Linked DNA regions of Homo sapiens: region 2 is linked to region 1. The links are contacts of gene promoters, found by promoter capture Hi-C in human tissues and cell types (Jung and others, 2019). All regions are on one chromosome and are shown on one strand. Each heading gives the region's core, a stretch centred on a gene start or on the middle of the fragment in contact. The rest is flanking DNA. Distances are from core to core; before and after follow the strand shown. Region 1 holds the start of MFNG (MFNG O-fucosylpeptide 3-beta-N-acetylglucosaminyltransferase). Region 2 holds the start of C1QTNF6 (C1q and TNF related 6).

Evidence for each region. The method cuts DNA at HindIII sites, captures the fragments that hold promoters and counts their contacts. A contact is called where the count stands out against the background at its distance.
Region 2: a fragment that was not itself captured here is called in contact with the fragment with the promoter of MFNG in region 1 in 8 of the 25 tissues and cell types used here (H1 embryonic stem cells, IMR-90 fibroblasts, dorsolateral prefrontal cortex and 5 more).

Annotation. Positions count from the first base shown.
Region 1 is chr22:37,483,709-37,490,829 of GRCh38, reverse strand. MFNG (MFNG O-fucosylpeptide 3-beta-N-acetylglucosaminyltransferase) reads left to right here and starts at 4,446. Exons shown (of 8, transcript NM_002405.4): 1 at 4,446-4,907. The coding sequence starts at 4,653. CARD10 (caspase recruitment domain family member 10) reads left to right here. Exons shown (of 20, transcript NM_014550.4): 20 at 1-468. RefSeq lists enhancers at 3,044-3,553, 3,554-4,065, 4,066-4,575, 5,052-5,101, 5,502-5,561 and 2 more and a silencer at 4,352-4,481. The HindIII fragment of the contact is 15,221 bases long and covers 1-7,121 here.
Region 2 is chr22:37,186,323-37,193,443 of GRCh38, reverse strand. It overlaps C1QTNF6 (C1q and TNF related 6), which reads left to right and starts at 5,197. Exons shown (of 3, transcript NM_031910.4): 1 at 5,197-5,281. The coding sequence starts at 5,231. IL2RB-AS1 (IL2RB and C1QTNF6 antisense RNA 1) reads right to left here. Exons shown (of 2, transcript NR_199008.1): 2 at 6,622-7,121. RefSeq lists enhancers at 3,554-4,187, 4,188-4,823, 4,824-5,457, 5,458-6,093. The HindIII fragment of the contact is 4,689 bases long and covers 1,088-5,776 here.

The DNA of each region.
Region 1 (7,121 bases), core at 3,197-5,696:
TGCACACTCAAGTTCTCATGGGCAGGCTCAGGTCTGTCCCGCTGCCCTGGGCACGAGGTCTCCTGAGGACCTGGGCCTGTTCTGCTCCTAGGAGACCTGAGCCCGTTACCGCGTGACTCCCACCATCCAGCTCGCGCTCCTCGTGGATTCAGCCATGCATGGACTGGGGTGTTCCCTGGCCCATGGTCACCTGTGCCCCTCGTGTCTCCTCACATGGGTGTCTGTGGTTCTCTCCTGTGTAAATGTCACGCCCCACCCCTGTTTCATGTGGGCACTAACACGTGTGCGTTCCTGGCGGGCACACTCAGGACCGTGCCTCACAGGGCCCACTCCCTGCCTATGCCTCCCTCTTGGGGGGCCGAGGAGGGCGGCTGCTCTGTCATGAGAATGTACGGCCCGTGGATGATTAACGGGCCTTTTTCACTTAGAAGCTGCACATTATGGAGCATTAAACACTTTTGTCATAGATGCTGGTGGCCTTCTGCTTGCTTGTATCCCTGGCCTGGGTCCCCATCACTCTCCTCATTTGTCTCCCAGCTCAGGCGGATACCACCTTTCAGGTCCCCGCTTGCCTGTCAGGAGGGTCGGATTTCCCGCCTGCCTCTTCCCAGAGCCGCCCGCCATCTGTGCTGGCGTCACCTTACCTGCCCCTGAATGACCAGAGGAGGGCCCCACAGATGGGCCACCCCAACGCTCAGCCCTGCCCACAGCTGATCATCAGAGGAGTGTCCCCTGGAGCAGGGCACCAAAACTGGCAGGGTGTGGCCTCCGACTGAAGGGGCCTGGCTGCTGAGCCCAGGAGCTCAAGAGCAAACCCTTGGTATGCACGCAGGTTCCTGAGACAGCTCTACTGGAGAGAGGATGGTTGCTCCCACTGGGAGCAATCCAGGCAGCCTTACTGGAAGAAGTGCCACTTGAGCTTGGGAGTTGGGATTCCTTTCTTCAGGAACCACTTATTGGACCTACGTGTCCAAGTGCAGGTGACTGTCCTCAGCCACAGTGATGAGGCTGGGCAGGTCCCTGGGGCTTGGGGTTGTGGGTGTACTAACTAGGTAGGGTAGCCTCAAGGGCGAAAGCTCAGAGGCAGCACATGGGTTGGATCTGGCCACCTTGGATGGGGTCGGAAATGAGGTTGGGAAGGGCAAGTCCAGGGGTGGGGTTGGGAGCGCAAAGGAGCTTGGGCTGTGCCCTGGAGGCTGTGGGAGCCTCTCAGGATGTGGGAGCAGGGCTATGGGAGCTCTGGTTTGGAGTTGACTTAGAGAGGGCTGAGGCCAATTGGAGTAGGGGGTGGGGGGCAGGGGCAGTGGAGGAGAGAGGAGCAGACAGGAAGGAGGGGATCTGTGGCCTCCAGGGGTGGGTCTGGATCTCCATGTTTGACAAGAAAAATGCTTAAGAAGGGGTCAGGGCTGGGGATTTGGGGTGGTGGGTGGAGAAGGGAATGGAGAAGCTGGGAGAGGGGATTGGGGTGTGGATCAGGGGGCCACAGCCCCATCTTTAGTGGGAAGAGACAAGGAGTGGGTGTAGGGGAGAGGTGGTGAGGGTCTCAGAGACTGGACCACGCAGGATGACGGTGCTTGGGTATGAGGCCAGGGTGGACGGTGGGCCCAGGCTGTCCCGGGAACCCAGAGAGGCTTTCCCAGGATGGAGTGCAGGGTGCGCAGGGCACTGTAGTTTGGTTGAAACCCAAAGCTCTGGTCAGCCAGGAGACCCTGGCAACTCGGGTGGCCTCTCTGGGCCCAGGGCCCTCCCCTGTGGAGTGGAGGCCCGGATGGTGGAGTGAGCATGGAGGTACGGATTGGCCACGGCTAGGTGAGCACGTGTGGCTGGGGCTGAGCCATTGCTTGGGAAAAGGTCTTCCCACTCTCTACGACAGGGTGTCTTTGACAAGGTGCAGATTGGACTTGGAGGCCTGCCAGTCTGTCACCACTGGGGTAGGGGCTGGGGAGCTGGACCCTGAGTGGCAAAGGCGGTGCCCTGGGGGAAGGGCAGCCTCCCTGCATGGGAATCAGCGGCAATGCCGCTTTCTACTCCAGGCCTTCCCAGGTGTTGACTCTCCCATCCCCCCAGCCACATCCTCCCCACCGCGGGCAGTGGCAGTGGCCTTTCAGTTTACCCTTAGCTGTGCTCCTCTGCTCATGTGGCCCCTGCCTGGGCTGCTCTCCCTGCCTGAATCTTCCTGATCTTTGAAGCCTGGCTGAGATATTACGTATCTCCATGAAACCCACCACCAGGTCCTCCCAGCCCTTGGGACTTCTCCTGGCCCATGCCATATTCTGCCTTGTGGTGGGACGAGGGTGTCTGTGTGGCTGTCTCTCGATGTCTGTGGCTTCCTGGGCATGGAAACTGGGCTGTGTGCATTTGGGTACATGAACCTCCCCCTGCCCCACAGTGAGCCTGGCCCAGTGCTTGGCCTGGGGAAAGGCAGGGGCCTGTGACTTGGCTGCCTTTGCCTGTTCCCCGTGTCAAGCATCCTTTCTGTGGGGTGGAGAAGCCCACTCATCCTGTAATCGTCACCAAGTCATATTTTTGTCCCCATTTTAGAAATGATGAAGGTAACTTTCCTAGAGTCATACAGCCAGTGAGTGGCCCAGTTGGGAATTTTTTTTTTTGAGATGGAGTTTCACTCTTGTTGCCTAGGCTGGAGTGCAATGGCGCCATCTCGGCTCACTGCAACCTCTGCCTCCCGGGTTCAAGTGATTCTCCTGCCTCAGCCTCCCTAGTAGCTGGGATTACAGGTGCCTGCCACAATGCCTAGCTAATTTTTGTATTTTTGGTAGAGACGGGGTTTCACCATGTTGGCCAGGCTGGTCTTGAACTCCTGACCTCAAGTGATCTGCCTGCCTTGGCCTCCCAAAGTGCTGGGAGTACAGGCGTGAGCCATGGCGCCCAGCCCCCAGTCAGGATTTAAACCTGGTCTGTGGGGTACAGAGTCTGGGATCATCACCAAGGCTGGCATCATCACCATTCTGAGAATATGGCCTGTGAAGGGGCCTGGCTGGGGGCTGGCCCATGAGAAGGTCATTCAAAGGGTTGGTTTTCCCTTCCTCTCCCCCAGCTGTCCTCATGCAGGGTTGAGCCCGGCAGGGCCACTTCCCTTTGCCAGCCACCTGGTACTTTGTTGTGTTGAATTAACATTGATTGAGTTCTTGTCTGCCGGTCACTGTTCTAGGCACTGGGGATTAGGGACTCAGTGATCAAAAAATAAATCCTGCCCTGATATTCTCATGAGGAGGACAGAAACTTAGTTAAACATACAGAATGTTGGAAGATGAAAAGTGTGATGAAGAAAACAGTGAAGTGGCTTGAGAGGGACAGGCCTGGGGGGCTGGGAAGGAGGCGGCGAGGGGTTGCAATGTTAATAACGTGGTCAGGGAAGGCCTCACAGAGACGGTGACCTTTGTGTAAAGACCAGAAGGGAGTGGGGGAGTGAGACGTGCAGGTCTCTAGGGAGGGGCCCAGGTGGGAACAGCAAGTGCCAAGGTCCTGTGGCGGCCAGGTGCCTGGGCCAGCGAGGGTCCCAGGTTCTGGAGTGGAGCAGGGTGAGTAGCAGGAGATGGGGTGGGAGTAACTTGGGAGCCAGCTCACGCAGGGCCTTGTGGGCTGCTGTGTGCGTTTTGGCTTTTGTTCTGAAGAAAATGGGAGCCAGTGCAGGCTCTGAGTGGAGGAGGGAGGAGGTGTGAGTGAGCTTGTGCGAAACAAGATGGAGGTGGTGGCTGGAGAAGGCCCTCTGTCTGTCCACTGGTCAGGTGCTGGGAGAGAGGCAGCTCCAGAGACTGCGGAGTGAGGTCGGGTATGGGCTGGGGCACAGCTGGACAGGTGCCCTCAGGGGACCTCCTGTGAACTAGATGAGGAACAGAGACCTGGGTTCTGCCAGCTCTGCGGCTGAGTTGCTGGATCGTTTTTGCTCATTCTGTGCCTTTGTGCCTTATGTCTTCAGCTATAAACTGGGAACGACAGTCCCAGTGCTGTTGTGAAGACCTCAGGAACTGAGCGAACAACTGTGGGAGCCCCAGAGGTTAAGAGGTTATCACGGAAGGCTTCCTGGAGGAGGGAACCCTTAAGCTTTGAAGTCCAGATAGAACTCAGCCTAGTGGAGGGAATGTGGGTGAGGCTGGTGGAATATGGGAGAGCATCCCGGAGGAAACCTGTGAGCAAAAGCTGGGGGCTGGGTGAAGCAGGACACCAAAGTAATGGGTGTTGAATGGGCCGAGCTGACAGCTCTCTGGGGGAGTGGACGGTGCTGGAGGACACTCCCTTCCACCGGGCACGGAGGGTTTGTTGTGACTTCCTCCCACCGCAGCAGCTGGCAGAGCCGGGGCTGCCCTTTCTGCTGGTGCCTCCTTTCAGCCGCCTCTGTCTGGGGTTCCCTTCGTCTGGCCCCGCCCCTCGGGCTAAGCGGGGCGGGGCCAGGCGGTCCCGGAGGCTGCGGCAGGCCGGACAGCGGGAGCAGGTGGAGGACTGGCGGCGGTCGAGATCGTGCTGCCATGGCTCAGCCTCTGGGTCCAGAGCCTCAGCTCCTACCTCTTCCCTCCTTGCCAGCCCCTGATGCCTGCCAGACTTTTGCCTCTGCTGGAGCCCCTGCCTGACCAGCTTCCCCTCCCTGTCTGGTTGGGATTTGGGGGCTGAGCTGTCTGGGGTCCCAGGGCCAACCAATGCAGTGCCGGCTCCCGCGGGGCCTGGCTGGAGCCCTCCTCACCCTCCTGTGCATGGGGCTCCTGTGTCTGCGGTACCACTTGAACCTGTCCCCGCAGCGGGTACAAGGGACCCCCGAGCTGAGCCAGCCGAACCCGGGGCCCCCTAAGCTACAGCTACACGATGTCTTCATTGCAGTGAAGACGACCCGGGCTTTCCACCGCTTGCGCCTGGAGCTGCTGCTTGACACGTGGGTTTCCAGGACCAGGGAACAGGTGACAAGTGGGTGACATTGGGCCCTGGGGGTGGCCCCTGGCCTAAGGGGTTCTCAGAGGCCTTTCTACTGGGCTGGGGTCCCTGACTGCCTCATGGGAGAAGCTGCTCAATACCTGCCTAATCAGGGATCCTCTTCCTCTCTCCTTCTTCCGGGCTTTAGGGGCTGCCTGCGGCCCTGCCCGTGCCCTGTACTGGTCCTGACTCCAGGTGCACCCAGGTCCTACCGCTCCACCACTTTTGGGGGCCAGGCTGGGCCCCTGCTCCAGGCTCCCGGGTCCCTCCTGGGGGTTCTTCTATTCCTAGCCGCTCCCGTGGGGGCTTCGCTCCTAGCCACCCAGGCCCAGCCTGGCATCAGGGGTAATGGTGGGTGTTGGGCAGCTGGGGTGGAGGCCTCCAAGAGGTCCTGACCCAGACCCGTGCCCAGGCCAGGCTGTCCCACCCAGGCCCTAGGTGCTGTCCTGCCCGGGCTCTGAGGGTGGAGGACGGGAGGAGAATGGTGGGGTCTGTTCTTGGGGGAGGCATCCCTTCGGCCTTCCCGATAGCCCCTGCCGCTGTGTCTCTGCTGCCCCGGGTGTGCCGAGGCCGCCATGTCTGGCCTCCTGTGTTGGCTTCCTGCGGACTGCTTCCGAGGGAGGGAAGGAGAGCGCATGCCACGAGGGTGGCGGCTGAGGCAGTGGTGGGCCGGAGGTTGGGGAGGCCTGCCTGGCACGTGGGATTGTGTGTGTGTGTGTGTGTGTGCTCACACGCACGGAGCTGGAGTGTGCTAGATGTGTGTGACAAGAGGCATGTCTGTCACATGGCTGTGCGGCTCCGGCGAGCCAAGTCCCTTCCAGCCCTTTCCCTCCTCGCATCCAGTATCTTCCTTAAGCAAAGTTAGTGATGTCGGTGTTAGGGACCGTTGATGGGGGAGGTGGAGAATGGGTACACACACACACACACACACACACACATCGGTCCCCTCTTTGGCGGCTGGCTCAGTGGGAGGAAGTGACTGAGTCTTTGGAGATAGTCGAGACCTCCTGGAAGACCAAAAGGAGGGGGAGAGGATGGCTGGCAGAGGCCAGGCCCTCCTGGGGAGGGGCACCCTGCCCTGATTTCTGCCCTCGTACTTGGGATTAACTCTTCCCCAGCTGGCCCCCAGCACCTCAGCTCTTCTCTGGGCCCCACACGGCTTCTCATCTTGGGGAGATCCTGGTTCTTCCTGCGGAAGCAGCCAAGGCGGGCCCTCCCGCAGGCCTTCCTGTTTATGCGTCTGTGTACCCGGGAGCGTGGCCTCACGTGGCCCACGGCCCTTTCCTGTCTTATCTCCATCACCGCGGTGGTGCCCTTGCCCCGGATGAGGAAACTGAGGCCAGAGAGAGGAAGTGCTGGCTGGCGTGGTGTCACGCAGAAGGCCTGAGGGGACAGAGCCCAGTGGGACCTAGAACCTTGCTCCTGGTTGGGTGCTTTTCTCCCCTGCTGAGACTTGGGAACCCTGTGAGGACTGGGTCACTGGGCTACAGGAGTCGCTACCCCACGTCTCTCACCCTTTGGCTCACTTCTCTCTGTGACCTCAGCCAAGGCCCTCCCCTTTCGGCCCGCAGTTTCCCCATCTGCACGGGGCAGGAGTGTCTGGACCGGGCCTGAGCTGGTTAACTGCAGCGCTGGGCGCCCGCCTGGCTGGTTAAGGGCGGTCGGGTGGCAGGTGGGCCTTGCGGCAGGGGCCGGGACTCGTGTGCCGGCCTTTGTCCTGGGCTGAGGGGGTGGGCTGGGGGAGGCGGGTTTTGTGCTCAAGGCGAGCCTTTCTCCTCCCTATGGTCCCCTTGTTGGGGGGAGAGGTGGCAGCAGCCCCACCACTCCCCTCCTCTGCAGCAGATGGTCCCCGGCCACCCCTCCCCTGCCCCAGCAGGCTGCGTGTCCCTTTGTTTCCCGCGGCTGCCTGTGAAGTTTTCACCATTGTCAGGTCCCCTCCTTAAACAAGTCAAATGCAGCCCTTGGCTCCAAAGAAACTCTGCCCATCGCTCTGTGCCAACCTTAGGATTCCCAGGGACTGAAAGCGCCAGCCTCACTGCCCTCTCCTGTGCCCCCGCCCCCTCTGGACCTGGACTCCCCTTCCCGGCTCTCTCCCTCACTCTGTTCATGGCTGCTGGTGTTTTGTTTTGTTTATTTTGAGACAGAGTCTCACTCTGTTTTCCAGGCTGGAGTGCAGTGGCACGATCCTGGCTCACTGCAAC
Region 2 (7,121 bases), core at 2,183-4,682, 300 kb after region 1:
CTTGCCACTCTTGATGCCCCACCTGAGAGGACCTAAGATAAATTTTAATAGCCTGGGACTTCTCAGGAAAAAAGGAGGTGCTACAGACCCTGTTTTGGGAGAAACCTCTGTTCTCCTCATGGACACCCCCAGGAATTGAAAGCAGATAGACCACTCTCAAAATCTAAGGCTCTGCTCTGTTTTGTATTGTGTTATCTGACAGTTTTGACTTTTGGGGATATCAGAAATTACTTTGCATTTTAAGAGAGCTTTTAGCCTTGCTATGTAATAACTAGGTGGGGAATACACTTTTAGGGATGGCTAATGGCAGTTTTGTGGGGATACTTGGCTCTTCGCACCTTTGGATCAGAAAAGCATGCTCTTGGCCACCTAGAAAGTATGGAAGTGTCCCCACCCTCCATTGAAAGATAAGACTGCCATGGGGGATGGGCTGATTCCCTCTCTTTGGGATCCAGGATCCAATATAAAAATGAAACCCTTAATTTTGGGGTTCTGTTTTGCCTTCCAGCTGTGCCTGCTTATTAGGCCTTAGAAACTGCAGGCTTTCCTGGCCCTGTTTCTTGAAGGGCTCCACCCTGAAGTCAGTAATCCAATTAAGAAACTTAAAAATTGGCAAATGAAAAATCTTACAACTACTGGATCTTCTGTCTGTGTATTTATATATGTTGTGTGTGTGATGTTGATATATGAAAGAGCTCTGATTAATTGGCTTAAAAATAATAAGTACTTAAATCAAATATTTTGTCAGAAAAATAGAAACATTAATGCCTTTTGGTTCACATGACTTTAATAATCTTTGGGAAATAGAGACAGTTTTAAAGATTATCAGTAACATTAAAATATCTTCAAACTTTAGACATTTGGTCTAAATTAGGCAGGTCAGATTTTAGGTTTGCTAAATGCCTCAAGGTCATAAACTGCATCATTGACTTTTGAAAATTGCCCAGCTTACCTGCTTTGGGGCCATTAGATTCTAGATAAGGCCTGGGGACTTGTCGAGTTAGCCATGCCCCCAGCTATGCTGGAAAGAGTCAGACCTTATCTGCACTTCTGCAGATAAGGCTGTCCTAGGCTCCACACCTGGAATATAAGTAAAACTGCTTACTTACCAGGTTTTTCACCAAAAAATAAAAGTTGCTAAGAGTTAACATCGTAATATGTTATATGTAATTGAGACTACTAGAGAAACAGTTTTATATGCAAGGTGTGTAAGGAAAATTGAATATGCTTTTGGTAAGAAGATTATAAGAAAGCATGGGAATGTGGACTTTCCCCCTACTTTAGAGGGTTAAAGGATTGTTTCAAGTTAGGTAGGATAAAGCTGAAGGTTTGAGCAAGTTATGGAAGGTTTGTGAAAGATTAATCTTGTAAAAGAAATTCTGTGTGAACTTATTGGCTTAAATTAAAGGGATATTATTCAGTTTTTCCATAAATTAAATATGGAATAAAAGTATAACAAGGTTTTCTTAGAGCACTGGTATACTCTTTAACAAGAAAATTGTAAAGAGCTATAAAAGGTTTATGAGACTCTTACCTCATGGTCAAACATTAAAATTGGATAGAGTTGTCTATAAGGCTTTATTATGAATTGGGTTTGACATTAATAGTACACAAATGCAAAGGTAAAATTTGGCTTTCTCTCTTGAACAAGTTTTTCATGTAATATTGAAAAATAATTAAAGATTTTTGTTTGCCTTTTGAATAAGCTATAGAAAAAAGAAAGGAACGAAAAGAGACAGTTTTTTTTGGAAAGCTAAGTCTTCCCTTTATCGGTGAGTAAAGGTTTTTGCCCTTAAAAACATCTTTGAGTTATCATTTTGGCCAAATAAATGACTTATGGTGACCTGGGATGCTATTTTGTAGTATCAAATGTTTTAAATTTTTGATATTTGACAAACTTTCCAAAATCAAATTCTAAGTTATGCCTTTTTCTAACCTGATTAGTCCTTTAGATATTAGGTCCCCTAAAGTCCAAAAATGACATATTTGGCTTATTTGGTACATTAAAATAATACAGGAAGCATTGTCAAATATGAAATTGTGTTTGGCTTTCTTTGGGCTGTGTTTATATAAATATGTTATTGGTATGTGTTCCAAAATTATGGGAAACTCCTATAATTCTGATATGAACATTATCAATACTAATGGACATTATCAATAATAATTATAATTGTTATGATGTTAATTTATTATATGCCACAGAGGTATCCACATTTCCTAGTCAATGATATTAATTCTTTAACCATGACTGCTCTAAGTCTTTCTGTCATCCATAGACAATTGTTGTCTTGCTTTTATTCTCTTCAAAAGGTGGTTTATAATCAGCTATAGGACTCTGATGAGTACTCTTAAATGCAGAGAAAAAGAAAACATCATCCAAGACTCTTGGAAAACTAACACATATATATCAAGCAAAACAGGAATTAATTGCATAGACTGAACTAATAAAAGACTGAAATAATCTTTTATGACTTTTTGCTTAAAATGTTGTTGATCTTTCTGTTTTGTTTTTCAGAGTCAAGAAACCCCCCCTTCTTGAGCTATTTACAGCTTTTAACAATTGAGTAAAGTACGCTCCGGTAAGGATTATAAAACAAAGTTTTGTCCAAAAACAAAATTTGGAATATGTTTTTTTCTCTTTACCTGATTTCTGCAGAATTTGGAAACTATTTGTGAGTGTTCTTAACTTACGGCAATATAGTTATTTGCATAAGTGCAGTAAGAATCTGTTTTTCCTTCTTTCTTCTTTTTTTTTTTTTGTAACAGGACACAATTGGAGAAACTGGTTATTTAACAAGGGTTTGACTCGAGTGGCATGCTTTCAAATATAAACAGACTTCTTTAAGGAATTAAAGTTGACTAATAGAGCCAATAAAAGCCTCTTGGAAAAACTGGTCTTGTACCTTGTGTATGAAGTCCCTGTATAGGGTTCCTGACCTGTGGTAAGTAAAGAATGTAACTTTCTGACAGGCCTGGGAGCCCCGAGTTATCTCGGGACCTCAAGAGGAGAGGAATTTATCTAACTCATACAGGTTCTTGCAGGCATAGGTAAATCCATGGCTGGGCTCAAAGCTTTAAAACATCTAATCTAAGATACCTTATGAAACAAAGCCAATTTTAAAAGGAGCCTGTATGGCAAATAATTATACTTGCTGCACTTTATGCAAATAATGAAGCCAAGTATAATAAGACTAAAGCTTATTTTGCAAATAAATTGGTCCTACCATGATTTGTTTTTAATAAAAAATGGGAGACTGGAGAGAGAAAAACGGTGTTTCAAAAAATATGGTACACCTGTCATAGATTCTAGTCTCATCCATTGTTTTTGAGTTTTTTGTCTGCAATTTAGACTGACCTTGCTTCTTTCTGTGAACCAAACAGTCATCTCTTGACTGCTTCTCGTCAGAAACAAGAGGGATGGATAACATAAAAATCTGGATCAGTATCTAATTCTGAGCATGTATTGGAATCGTCTAGCAACTCCGTATCAGCTCATCTAGCAATTCCTGTGACTAAGAATGCCTAACCTCCTGGGAATGCAGCCCAGTAGGTCTCAGCCTCATTTTACCCGATAAGTCACAGGCATTCTTGCCCAGTTCATGGAAAGCCTTCTTATTTGGATTACTTGGGATAATTTTACTTATTTTACTTTGCTGTTGTAGAATATATTGCTGCTATACTCTTTGTGTAAGAATGCAAGATAAGCTTACTCAGTGCTTCCTTAAATTGAACACATTAATCTTCCAGATATCACCTTTTGTTAGGACTCAGAGTTACAAATGACTCTGAACACACCAACATTTTCTTACTCAGTTCCTCTCTGCACCAAACCCAAGAGACTCTAATAGTTAGGCAGGAATATCATCGCCTCTATTCAGCCTGAAGAAGTTACAGAAGATGGATCTTCATGCCTCTACAACCCTTAAGATTAAACGTTCCCTCGTAAAAGAGAGTAGGGAAATATGTCAGAGGTGTTCAAAATAGGGCAACTCCATCTTGAATAGGGGCTGGGTAAAATGAGGCTAAGACCTGCCAGGCTGCATTCCCAGGAGGTCAGGCATTTGTAGTCACAGGAAGGGATAGGAAGTTGGCAGGACTGGTATCACAAGATACAGGTCATCAAGACCCTGCTGAGAAACAGTATGCGGTAAACAAACCAGCCAAAACCTGCCAAATCTAAGATTGCAATGAAAGTGACATCTGGTCATCCTTATTGCTCATTGTATGTTAATTAAAATGTGTTAGCTTGCTAAAACACACTTCTACCAGCACCAAGACAGCCTACAAATACCATGGCAATGTCCGGAAATTACCCTATATTGTCTAAAAGGGGGAGGAAGCCTCAGTTTCAGGAAATTCCCACCCCTTTCCTGGAAAACTCATGAATAATCCACCCCTGTTTAGCATAGGATCAAGAAATAACTATAAAAATAGCCAACTAGCAGTGCTTGGGGGTGCTCTGCCTATGGAGTAGCCATTCTTTTGTTTCTTTGCTTCTCTAATAAACTTGCTTTCACTTTGCTCTGTGGACTTACCCCAAATTCTTTCTGGTGCAAGATCCAAGAATTCTCTCTTGGGGTCTGATCAGTACCCCTCTCTGGTAACACTTGCATGATACCTGAGGAGGTCAGCCTGGTCATTCACCCAACAAACATGGGTTAAGCCCTCCCATGTGCCTGGCACAAAGGGGGCTGAGGACTGCAGTTCTGGAACACCTAGGCTCTGAGAGGCGACGCGACTGTGGTAGCAGGGCCAGGATTCTAGCCTGTGCCTGGAGGGCCAACACCTGCACCTTCTCTGCTACCCACCCTGCCTCTGTGACTCAGAGCAGTTAAGCACTTTAGCTCAGGGTGGACTCAGGGCTGCCTCCCCCTTCCTGAGCAACCTAGGGGCTCCTGTGCCCCATGCCTGTGTCCATTTCCCAATCATCAGGGGGCCTCAGACTCCTGCCTGCTCTGACTTTCTAGGCCTTTGAATCAAGCAAGACCCCACTGGATCACCAAAGAGTTAAGCAAAGGAAATCCCTGCCTCCCTTTATCTCCGCAGAACCCAGAGGCTGAAAGGGAGGGAGCAGGGAGGAGGGGAAGTGGGAAGCGGCTCTGCCCTCTCCCTCCGCCCTCCCTCCGCCCTCTCTCCCTCCATCCCCTCCTCTCTCCCTCCTCTGCTGGGCCTGGGGGTCTGGGCCAGCAACAAGTTAGTATTGCAGACATGGGCCAAGGAGCCAGAGGCCATGCAGTGGCTCAGGGTCCGTGAGTCGCCTGGGGAGGCCACAGGACACAGGGTGAGTGACCAGAGGCTCCTCAAGCTTGGGGGCTGGGGTCAGAGCCTGGAATTCCTCTCCTCCCTCCTTGCTTCCTGGAAGCATCTCGGGCCCTGCTCTCTCCCTCTGACTGGGACAGCCTCTCCAGGCTCTCCCCTCCACATTTCCTCCTGCCTCTGGCTGAGGGCTGCGCTCCACTGCTCCCGGTTTGTGCCCGCCCCTACCCGGGCACACACAAACTCAGCTCTGCACGGCCTGCCTGGACCGAGAAAAGTTGCCCTGCCGCTCCCTCCCCAAAGAGGTCCCAGTGGAAGCAGCAAGGACCCCAAAAGTCCTCCCTATGACTTGGTTCCCACACTTGGTCCCTGCCTGGCACCCACCCCCAGAGCTAGTTCGTGATCCTGGCTGTGGTTATGATTCCTCGTTAACGGCTTCCTGATTCCTGCTCCCAGGCCACGGTTCTGTGTCTCACAGCCTTTGACTCCCATCCGCTGGGGCCAATAGGAAACAGAAATGCTCCCAAACCATGCCAGTCCTCTGGGAGAAGTTCTCCTTCCCATCCCATGCAGGCACAGGGAAGAAGTCAAAGCACACTTTTTTTTTTTTTTTTAAGTCTTTTATAAGGCAGGCACTTTTCCTGCATTGAAATCCTTCCAAATTACCTGGGAGGGAAAGGGTGGTGTCATTTCCTTGTAAGTATCAAGGAGCAGGAAGCCCAGAGAGGTTCAGCCACTAGCCCTAGGTCACACAGCTTGCAAACTATTCTGGGTCTCAGATTTGACTCTAAGACCTCAGCTTTTCTCATGAGGTCATATCTGTGGCTGGGAAAAAGAAGGGAATTTTGGGATTTCCAAAACCACTGGGATTTGTCATTTATAAGTAAAAGTTGAGGATGACAGTCTCAGACAGGGAGGATGTTGATCTCTGAGGATTTGACCTCCTTATTGAGCAGAACCAGGAACCCAACCAGGGTGGGCAGAGAGAAGCTTGGGAAGAGTCACCTCCAGGAAGAGGGAGGTGGCTCTGGAGACTTCCTGTCCAGCCCCCTTCTCCTGCTGCTACCATCCAGCTCTGGGGGTGGGGGGCAGGGCTCCTGCCGCTTTATTTATTTTTAGTTTTAATTTTTGAAAAATAGAGACAGGGTCTCACTATGTTGCCCAGACTGGTCTCGAACTCCGGGACTCGAGTGATCCTCTCTCCGTGGCCTCCCAAAGTGCTGGGATTGCAGGAGTAAGTCACTGCACCTGGCCATCCTGCCCCTTTAAAACTCTGCCCTCACCTCAGTGCTCAGCTGAGACAGGGTGGCATTTTAAAAAGTAATAATTGTACCTTGTCTACATGTATTAACCACAAAAAAAATATTTTTGAATTCTACTAAATGTTAAAGGAGAACAAAAAGGAAATAAACAAAGAAACGCCAGAAGTGTAAAAACCAGTCTGGTTTCAAAAGCAGAGTTTCTGATCCTGTGATAACTCGGCACCAGCCCCCAGAAGCTGCACCACCTCAAAGGTCTTTTTGCCCGGCTTCCTGCCCACCCAACCCAGGACTGTCTCTAGCGCCTGGTGTCCAGGCTACTTCCTGCCTCTCTCCTGGAGCCCTAGACCCCTTCTTGGCCAAGGCCAGAGACAGATCCTCACCAACACTTACACTTTTCTGATCCTTTAGAATTTTTTATACCTCCTAGTCCTACCCCTTAATTCCAATTTACCACCTTGGCATCTGATTGGCAGGTCTACGATGATTGACACAACCATCTTCCAATGAACTAACTCTCTCTACAGAACCCTCCCTGCAGGGCTTCTGGATAAGGTTGGGTTGCATAGATAGTTGACTGCACAAAGGTGCTGAGCAGGGAGGTGG